3 separate regions of the Homo sapiens genome follow, and regions 2 and 3 are each linked to region 1. The links are contacts of gene promoters, found by promoter capture Hi-C in blood cells and fetal thymus (Javierre and others, 2016). All regions are on one chromosome and are shown on one strand. Each heading gives the region's core, a stretch centred on a gene start or on the middle of the fragment in contact. The rest is flanking DNA. Distances are from core to core; before and after follow the strand shown.

What was found. The method cuts DNA at HindIII sites, captures the fragments that hold promoters and counts their contacts. A CHiCAGO score of 5 or more calls a contact.
Region 2: a contact is called between a fragment that was not itself captured here and the fragment with the promoter of CDKN1B in region 1, in 1 of 17 cell types (non-activated CD4 T cells). The highest score is 5.3, in non-activated CD4 T cells.
Region 3: a contact is called between a fragment that was not itself captured here and the fragment with the promoter of CDKN1B in region 1, in 1 of 17 cell types (non-activated CD4 T cells). The highest score is 9.3, in non-activated CD4 T cells.

The regions. Positions count from the first base shown.
Region 1 is chr12:12,715,918-12,718,617 of GRCh38, forward strand. CDKN1B (cyclin dependent kinase inhibitor 1B) reads left to right here and starts at 1,451. Exons shown (of 3, transcript NM_004064.5): 1 at 1,451-2,397. The coding sequence starts at 1,923. It also overlaps a transcript of GPR19 not described here. RefSeq lists silencers at 835-1,404, 1,829-2,017 and enhancers at 1,425-1,474, 1,555-1,654. The HindIII fragment of the contact is 7,251 bases long and covers 1-2,700 here.
Region 2 is chr12:9,686,291-9,688,990 of GRCh38, forward strand. It overlaps CLEC2D (C-type lectin domain family 2 member D), which reads left to right. Exons shown (of 5, transcript NM_013269.6): 3 at 1,612-1,796. Among named protein-coding and RNA genes, the nearest start is that of LINC02390, 16 kb to the right of the region's middle. The HindIII fragment of the contact is 224 bases long and covers 1,139-1,362 here.
Region 3 is chr12:9,654,843-9,657,542 of GRCh38, forward strand. It overlaps the pseudogene LOC374443. Among named protein-coding and RNA genes, the nearest start is that of CLEC2D, 14 kb to the right of the region's middle. The HindIII fragment of the contact is 250 bases long and covers 1,304-1,553 here.

The DNA of each region.
Region 1 (2,700 bases), core at 201-2,700:
AAACAAGCTACACATCAAGCTCATCTGTAGCATAGGTGCTTAAGAAAACTTTGCTGCTGTGTAATATTAGAACGGAAGGTTGGTTTCCAGTAAAATGCATTAACTTTGGCTCAAACCAAGATGATGGGTACCGGGCATGGGGGTGGGGAGGCAGTTGAAGATCCACTGAGCTTTGTCTCAGGGCAGCCCTGCTCATCGTCCTACTTTACCTTCCACCACGGTGCTCAAGCCCACACTGAGAGAGAAATTTCCAGCTGCAAAAGGGAGAAGAGAAACGCTGGAATACTAGTATCGGACGTTAGGACATGGTTGTGGTGTTTTAAAAATCATTTCATCATCTGGAGTTTGACCCCGAGGGGAGTATTTTCACCCTTCAGCCCTCTGAAAGCATTCACTAGCATCTGAATATTGTTCTGAGTTTGTTGGAGCAGTGAAATCTGGTGAGAGAGAAGGGTGGAGGAAGGAAGGAGCTGTTGTATTTGGCGGCTGGACTCAGGTAGAGGAAACTGCTACAATCCCGGGAAAGAACAGAAAAGTAGAAAGGGACGAGTTCCCACACGCAGCCAATGTCCATGGCCTTAACTGTGCTTGGGAAGGAAGATCCTGGGCCAGGGGTGTACCCTCGTTTTTCAAAACTAAACGTGTCTGAGACAGCTACAAAGTTTATTAAGGGACTTGAGAGACTAGAGTTTTTTGTTTTTTTTTTTTAATCTTGAGTTCCTTTCTTATTTTCATTGAGGGAGAGCTTGAGTTCATGATAAGTGCCGCGTCTACTCCTGGCTAATTTCTAAAAGAAAGACGTTCGCTTTGGCTTCTTCCCTAGGCCCCCAGCCTCCCCAGGGATGGCAGAAACTTCTGGGTTAAGGCTGAGCGAACCATTGCCCACTGCCTCCACCAGCCCCCAGCAAAGGCACGCCGGCGGGGGGGCGCCCAGCCCCCCCAGCAAACGCTCCGCGGCCTCCCCCGCAGACCACGAGGTGGGGGCCGCTGGGGAGGGCCGAGCTGGGGGCAGCTCGCCACCCCGGCTCCTAGCGAGCTGCCGGCGACCTTCGCGGTCCTCTGGTCCAGGTCCCGGCTTCCCGGGCGAGGAGCGGGAGGGAGGTCGGGGCTTAGGCGCCGCGGCGAACCCGCCAACGCAGCGCCGGGCCCCGAACCTCAGGCCCCGCCCCAGGTTCCCGGCCGTTTGGCTAGTTTGTTTGTCTTAATTTTAATTTCTCCGAGGCCAGCCAGAGCAGGTTTGTTGGCAGCAGTACCCCTCCAGCAGTCACGCGACCAGCCAATCTCCCGGCGGCGCTCGGGGAGGCGGCGCGCTCGGGAACGAGGGGAGGTGGCGGAACCGCGCCGGGGCCACCTTAAGGCCGCGCTCGCCAGCCTCGGCGGGGCGGCTCCCGCCGCCGCAACCAATGGATCTCCTCCTCTGTTTAAATAGACTCGCCGTGTCAATCATTTTCTTCTTCGTCAGCCTCCCTTCCACCGCCATATTGGGCCACTAAAAAAAGGGGGCTCGTCTTTTCGGGGTGTTTTTCTCCCCCTCCCCTGTCCCCGCTTGCTCACGGCTCTGCGACTCCGACGCCGGCAAGGTTTGGAGAGCGGCTGGGTTCGCGGGACCCGCGGGCTTGCACCCGCCCAGACTCGGACGGGCTTTGCCACCCTCTCCGCTTGCCTGGTCCCCTCTCCTCTCCGCCCTCCCGCTCGCCAGTCCATTTGATCAGCGGAGACTCGGCGGCCGGGCCGGGGCTTCCCCGCAGCCCCTGCGCGCTCCTAGAGCTCGGGCCGTGGCTCGTCGGGGTCTGTGTCTTTTGGCTCCGAGGGCAGTCGCTGGGCTTCCGAGAGGGGTTCGGGCTGCGTAGGGGCGCTTTGTTTTGTTCGGTTTTGTTTTTTTGAGAGTGCGAGAGAGGCGGTCGTGCAGACCCGGGAGAAAGATGTCAAACGTGCGAGTGTCTAACGGGAGCCCTAGCCTGGAGCGGATGGACGCCAGGCAGGCGGAGCACCCCAAGCCCTCGGCCTGCAGGAACCTCTTCGGCCCGGTGGACCACGAAGAGTTAACCCGGGACTTGGAGAAGCACTGCAGAGACATGGAAGAGGCGAGCCAGCGCAAGTGGAATTTCGATTTTCAGAATCACAAACCCCTAGAGGGCAAGTACGAGTGGCAAGAGGTGGAGAAGGGCAGCTTGCCCGAGTTCTACTACAGACCCCCGCGGCCCCCCAAAGGTGCCTGCAAGGTGCCGGCGCAGGAGAGCCAGGATGTCAGCGGGAGCCGCCCGGCGGCGCCTTTAATTGGGGCTCCGGCTAACTCTGAGGACACGCATTTGGTGGACCCAAAGACTGATCCGTCGGACAGCCAGACGGGGTTAGCGGAGCAATGCGCAGGAATAAGGAAGCGACCTGCAACCGACGGTAATGACCCTTTCCCAACCATAGAATGTGTTTGGGGCCCCGCTTTGCCTGCTGGAGGGTGTTAACCTTAGCTTGCTTTTCGGCGTATTCTGATTTAGCTTTGGGAGAGCTAACTTTATTGGTCTTAGGTGTTCAGTGCTACCTGGCCCACTGCTTGTCTGTTTGTGACTTTTAAGTCAGAAACTGGAGATGGTAAGATCCGATAATTTCCCTAACTTAATACATCGCGGTCCCTCTCACTAGCAACTCCTAGGTATGTGACAAAGTTGGGATGTTTATCAACGGTCCGCCTCCTGGCTAGGG
Region 2 (2,700 bases), core at 1-2,500, 3.0 Mb before region 1:
ATCAGCCATCTTGCCCTCTCTGGTCTGGTCGTTTTCTTTAAATTGGTTGATACAGGAGCAGTGATAGCACAACAAATATGCACAGATTTGGGGAAAGTCATCCTGCATTATGGTCTGGTTCAAGAAATTACATTTTAATAGTTATAATTTGGTATCACCTTGTTTGTGATACCAAACCAGATACAATACACGTTTGCCTCATGTTATGATTTGTTATTCAGATTACACCAGTTATTATTCATAACTAAGAGTGATTTCTCATCTCACAAGAGCCAAATCCAAGGATAATGGTGCCAATTGATAGTAATGATTCTATGAATACCCAGCATTCTGGTCTATCATAGACACTTTCAGAACCATTGAGTTGAAGGTAGAAGGTGGTTATATAATAGAAGATGAACTGGTAGCTACTAGGGGCTCAGTGACAACTATCTGGAGAGACATTCATTCATCTCGATCCCACATGAAGAGAGCATTTCTCCTGATTATATAAGAAGTGGGTCAGAAAAGCCTGTCCAGTGAAGTATTGCTGCCTTCAAAGTGTAGAAAACCTCACTAAATCTCCTTAGTGGAAGGAAGTTCACTGTACAACAACTTATTTCATATTTATGATAGTATTTAGACATATACAAGGCTTTTTCACATCAAGAAACCTTATTCACATAAGGCATCTCTATCCTGCCCTTCATTTTACCAAGTCATCTGGAGCAGCAATCGCCAACCTTGTTGGCATGAGGGACCAGTTTTGTGAAAGACAACGTTTTCATGGACTGGGGTCAAGGAATGGTTTGGGGATAATTTAAGTGCATTACTTTTATTGTGCCCTTTATTTCCATTATTATTACATTGTGTAATAATATATAATAAAATAATTATACAACTCACCATAATGTAGAATCAGTGGGAACCCTGAGCTAGTTTTTCTGAAAGTAGATGGTACCATCTGTGAGTGATGGGAGACAGTGACAGTTCATCAGGTATTAGATTCTCACAAGGAGCCCACAACCTAGATTCCTCACATGAGAAGTTCCCAATAGGGTTTGCCCTCCTATGAGAATCTAATGCCACTGCTGATCTGACAGGAGGTGGAGCTCATGAGGTAATGTGAGTGATGGGGAGTGGCTGTAAATACAGATGAAGCTTCACTTACTCATTCGCTGCTTACCTCCTGCTGTGCAGCCTGCTTCCTGACTCATCCATGGACCAGTACTGATCCATGGCCTAGGGGTTGGGGACCCCTAATCTAGAGCACTTGGAGAACTATCTGTTCTCCAAAGCTGATCAAATGCTATCATTAATGTATCTAATATTTTAAGAAAGGGTAACACTGTTGAGAGCCAAATAGATACATGGCCCAGAGCAAGCTTAAGTTACTAATAACTCCTTTTTCAGCTCACCCCCTGCTGAAGGCATGAGTTTGAATCTCAGTTTTGCCATTTGCTGTGTAATGTATGCAATTATATTTAGCATCATATTTCTCACTTGAAAAATGAAAATAATACATTTAATACTTAACAGGAGTGTCAGAAAGTATATTAGCACTTGGTAATTTATACAATACAATATAAAAGTAAGAAATTTTTATTTTATTTATTTTTATTTTATTTTCAGCAATAAGAGCTAACTGCCATCAAGAGCCATCAGTATGTCTTCAAGCTGCATGCCCAGAAAGCTGGATTGGTTTTCAAAGAAAGTGTTTCTATTTTTCTGATGACACCAAGAACTGGACATCAAGTCAGAGGTTTTGTGACTCACAAGATGCTGATCTTGCTCAGGTTGAAAGCTTCCAGGAACTGGTAAGAAAATAGTTCTGGCCAGAATCAAAGATTCAGCCCTACAAGGATATGTTTTCCTGTGAAATTATCTAAGAGGTAGGTTTAGACATCTGCTTTTACATTGATTTTTTTTTTTTTTTTTTTTTTTTGCATAACGAAAGAGTAACCTAGCATGTATTATATTTTACAGTGAACCATCTAAAATTACCTTAATATTCGTGGCAGGAACAGGCCCAGAGGGCAAGCAAGCCAGAGCCTTCTTTGACTTGTGAGCCAGAATTGTGCAAATAAGGATTAGAAAAGTATTGGTAGAAACCCAGTTTTAAGTTTGTATGAAGTTAGCAACATTGTTTCAAAATAAATCAAACAAGGCCAAGAGCAGTGGCACATGCCTGTAATCCCAGCACTTTGGGAGGCCAAGGCGGGTGTATCACTTGAGGTCAGGAGTTTGAGATCAGCCTGGCCAACATGGTGAAACCCCATCTCAACTAAAAAATACAAAAATTAGCTGGGCATGGTGGCATACGCCTGTAGTTCCAGCTACTCAGGAGGCTGAGGCAGCAGAATTGCTTGAACCTGGGAGGTGGAGGCCTACAGTTAGCTGAAATCATGCTACTGTACTCCAGCCTAACAGAGTGAGACTCTATCTCAAAAAAATAATAAAATAAAAACAATAAGTCAAGCAAGAATGATGTCATAGAGGTTGGTAGACTAAAAAGCTACAGAAATCTGTTCCTCCACTGAGAAAACTATTGAACTGTCAAAAACTGTCTGAAGTAACTATTTTGGAATTCTCGAGTCTAGTTAAACACTGGAAGCATCAAGGGAAGAGTTTGATAAAGAGGATGATAAATTTTGGTTAATGTTGGTGAATTTCAGCCTTTCCACTCAATAATAACTATTTTCCATACCCCATTATTGCAGG
Region 3 (2,700 bases), core at 179-2,678, 3.1 Mb before region 1:
TGTGAAAGTACAGTACTATGGAAGTCGATGCTATAGAAATTGATTTCCTTGAAACTGTTAGTGTCAGTGTAAATTTCAGAAAGTCAAGGGTGCAGATACCCAGCTGGAAACCACCGGACTGACGATTGTTGTGCTTAGGATAAGGCACTTTGTGATGAGTTAGGAAAACAACAATCAGATATGTACACTTCAAAATTGACCTCAGGAAGGTAAGCAGAAAAATAGATAAAATGGGTGAGAAAATTTCTTTATTATGTTTCATTGTGATTGTCTCACTTTTAGCAAGAAAGGAAAAGCCAGTGGTAGAGTCATCTAAATACGCTGCTTGCCCAAAAAGCTGAATTAGATTTAGGAGTAAATGTTTTTATTTTTCTGAAGGCATAAGAAATTAGACATTGAGTCAAACGTTCTGTGTCTCATTAGAAGCCAGCCTTGCTCAGTTTGCAACTATGGAGGAACTGGTAAGAGATATTTTTGGATCATGTTTTCTGTTAAATACTTAGCCCCCTGAGGCAGGTCGGCTACATAGGGTTAAAGCTGAAATACTAAGAAGGATCCCATTCCAGGGGCATGAGATGTGTTTTCATGTCTAACATTTGTTGAGGGTGTGTTCTCTGCCTGGAACCCTGTGAGACATTTTAGATATATTTCCCCATGTAATGCTCATGGTGAGCTGGTAAGATGAGATGTATTGTTCTCATTCTATTAAGAAGTAAGGTAATTATATAATTTGTCATCTAGATTAAGACATATAGGGCATTAAAAGTGATCATTAATACATTGGTGGAATGACAAGCATAAACTGAGAATTTCCCAATGAAACTGGGATTTATGCTCACTTTAAATAAAGTAATTTAGGATCAGAGACGTTAAATGACTTAAACTGAGAACTGGGAATTAGTCTCACTCCAGAATTTATGCTGCTTAATTATACCACGCTGCCAGTGAAAAAGAGAAGGGATAGGGAAGAGAGACTCCAGAGTAATATGAAAGAAAGGGGCTCATGGTGTTAGTTTCTGTTTTATTATAGAATTTCCTGAAAAGATACAAAGGCCCTTCTGACCATTGGATTGGCCTTAGAAGAGAATCATCCCATCGCATTTGGAAATGGACAGACAACATGGAATATAATAACATGTATGTTTTGAGACTTCTCATCTTTTGCTGTGTTTATGTATGGTTATGTGTGTGAGTTGTGTTTATGAGATAAGAAATGTAGTATCATGGAAAACTTACTGCAATATGAGGTAAGAAATCTAAACCCTTTTTATGCTCTTCAGTTGGTTAGCTGTGTCTTTGGGAAAGCTTTACCTGTGATTTCAGTTGAAGTCTTTAATGTGACAGTGACATTTCTCACAATTTTACACTTTCATCCACTGATTTAAAACTGCTGAAATCCCTACTTATAGCTGATGTGCAACAAAGGTTCTACAATCATAGGAAGCCACTGAGGAGCTGATATCCACAAGGCTGTTAAGCCCACTCTTGCAGGTGTTGCATCCATTTACAATAGGAAAGCATCCAGGGAACTCATGGGAATCTCTCCCTCCTAAAGCTTTATCACCAGAAGGAAACTAGTAACAGTTCCTTGGACTGTGAACATTTCAAAGGGGTATTTTGAATATAATCATTACATTGCAGCAGATAAAATGTAGGAACCCAGTCATATCCATTAATCAAAGCTAAGCCCTTTCAGGAATTTACTAGTTTTTTTTTTTTTTTTAGTTTTCACACATTTACAAAACAATTTGGGAGGAGGCTGGAAATCATCTTGACTGAAGACCACCAATGGCAGCAGTTCATTTGGGTACAGCAGCAAGCATCAGTTAAATACCTATCAACATAGCTGGGCTTGGTATGGATGAATGATAAGCTTGTGATTTTCAAGCAAGGACCTTGAGGACATAAAGGACACTAAATACAGAAATGGTTTATATTACTATGAAGCAATATTAATGACAGACTTTTGCTTTTCTCTTATTCACATTGAAATATGGAGGGGTTGCAGAAGATGATGGGGAGGAACAAATGCAGGTGTCTAACTTACAAATATTTAATATTTTTGTGTTTGGATTTAGGCTTGCTATCAGAGGAAGTGGAGAATGTGCCTTCCTGAATGACAATGGAGTCAACAGTGGCAGAATCTACATGAACAGAAAATGGATTTGTAGCAAGCCAAACAATTATGTCTACAGTTGCCAGTTATGTCCCCACTGGGATACTACCTAGTAGAGCTGTGAGAAGAGGGCCACCATCCTCCAGACTCCAGAATGGTGGAATCAGCAGCAGCTTCCACCATGCCCCTGGAAAAACTGCAAGTAACAGACCTGCACATGTATCCCCTACATCTAAAATAAAAGTTGGAAAAAATGGAACTTTGATGTTAAGATGCACTGATACAAAACTTAAATTTTGGTCTCCTACATTAAAACAATATGAGTCTCTTAAAATATTGATTTGTTCTTAGTAAGATTACAAGAGGCTTTGATTTTTAATTCTGCAATGTTTCCTTAACAGCCATTCTGAATTACAAACTAATTCCTATTTCTGCCACATTCCTTCCTGAGAACTGTCTAGTCCTGGTTTGGGATTTATCTTAAAGGTCTAGAAAGGCAACATTTTACTTCAGCAAAACTTGATTCTATATTGTTGTTTTTTCTTAATGTGTCAAAATTGTTTTGTTACTAGGATTTCCTATGT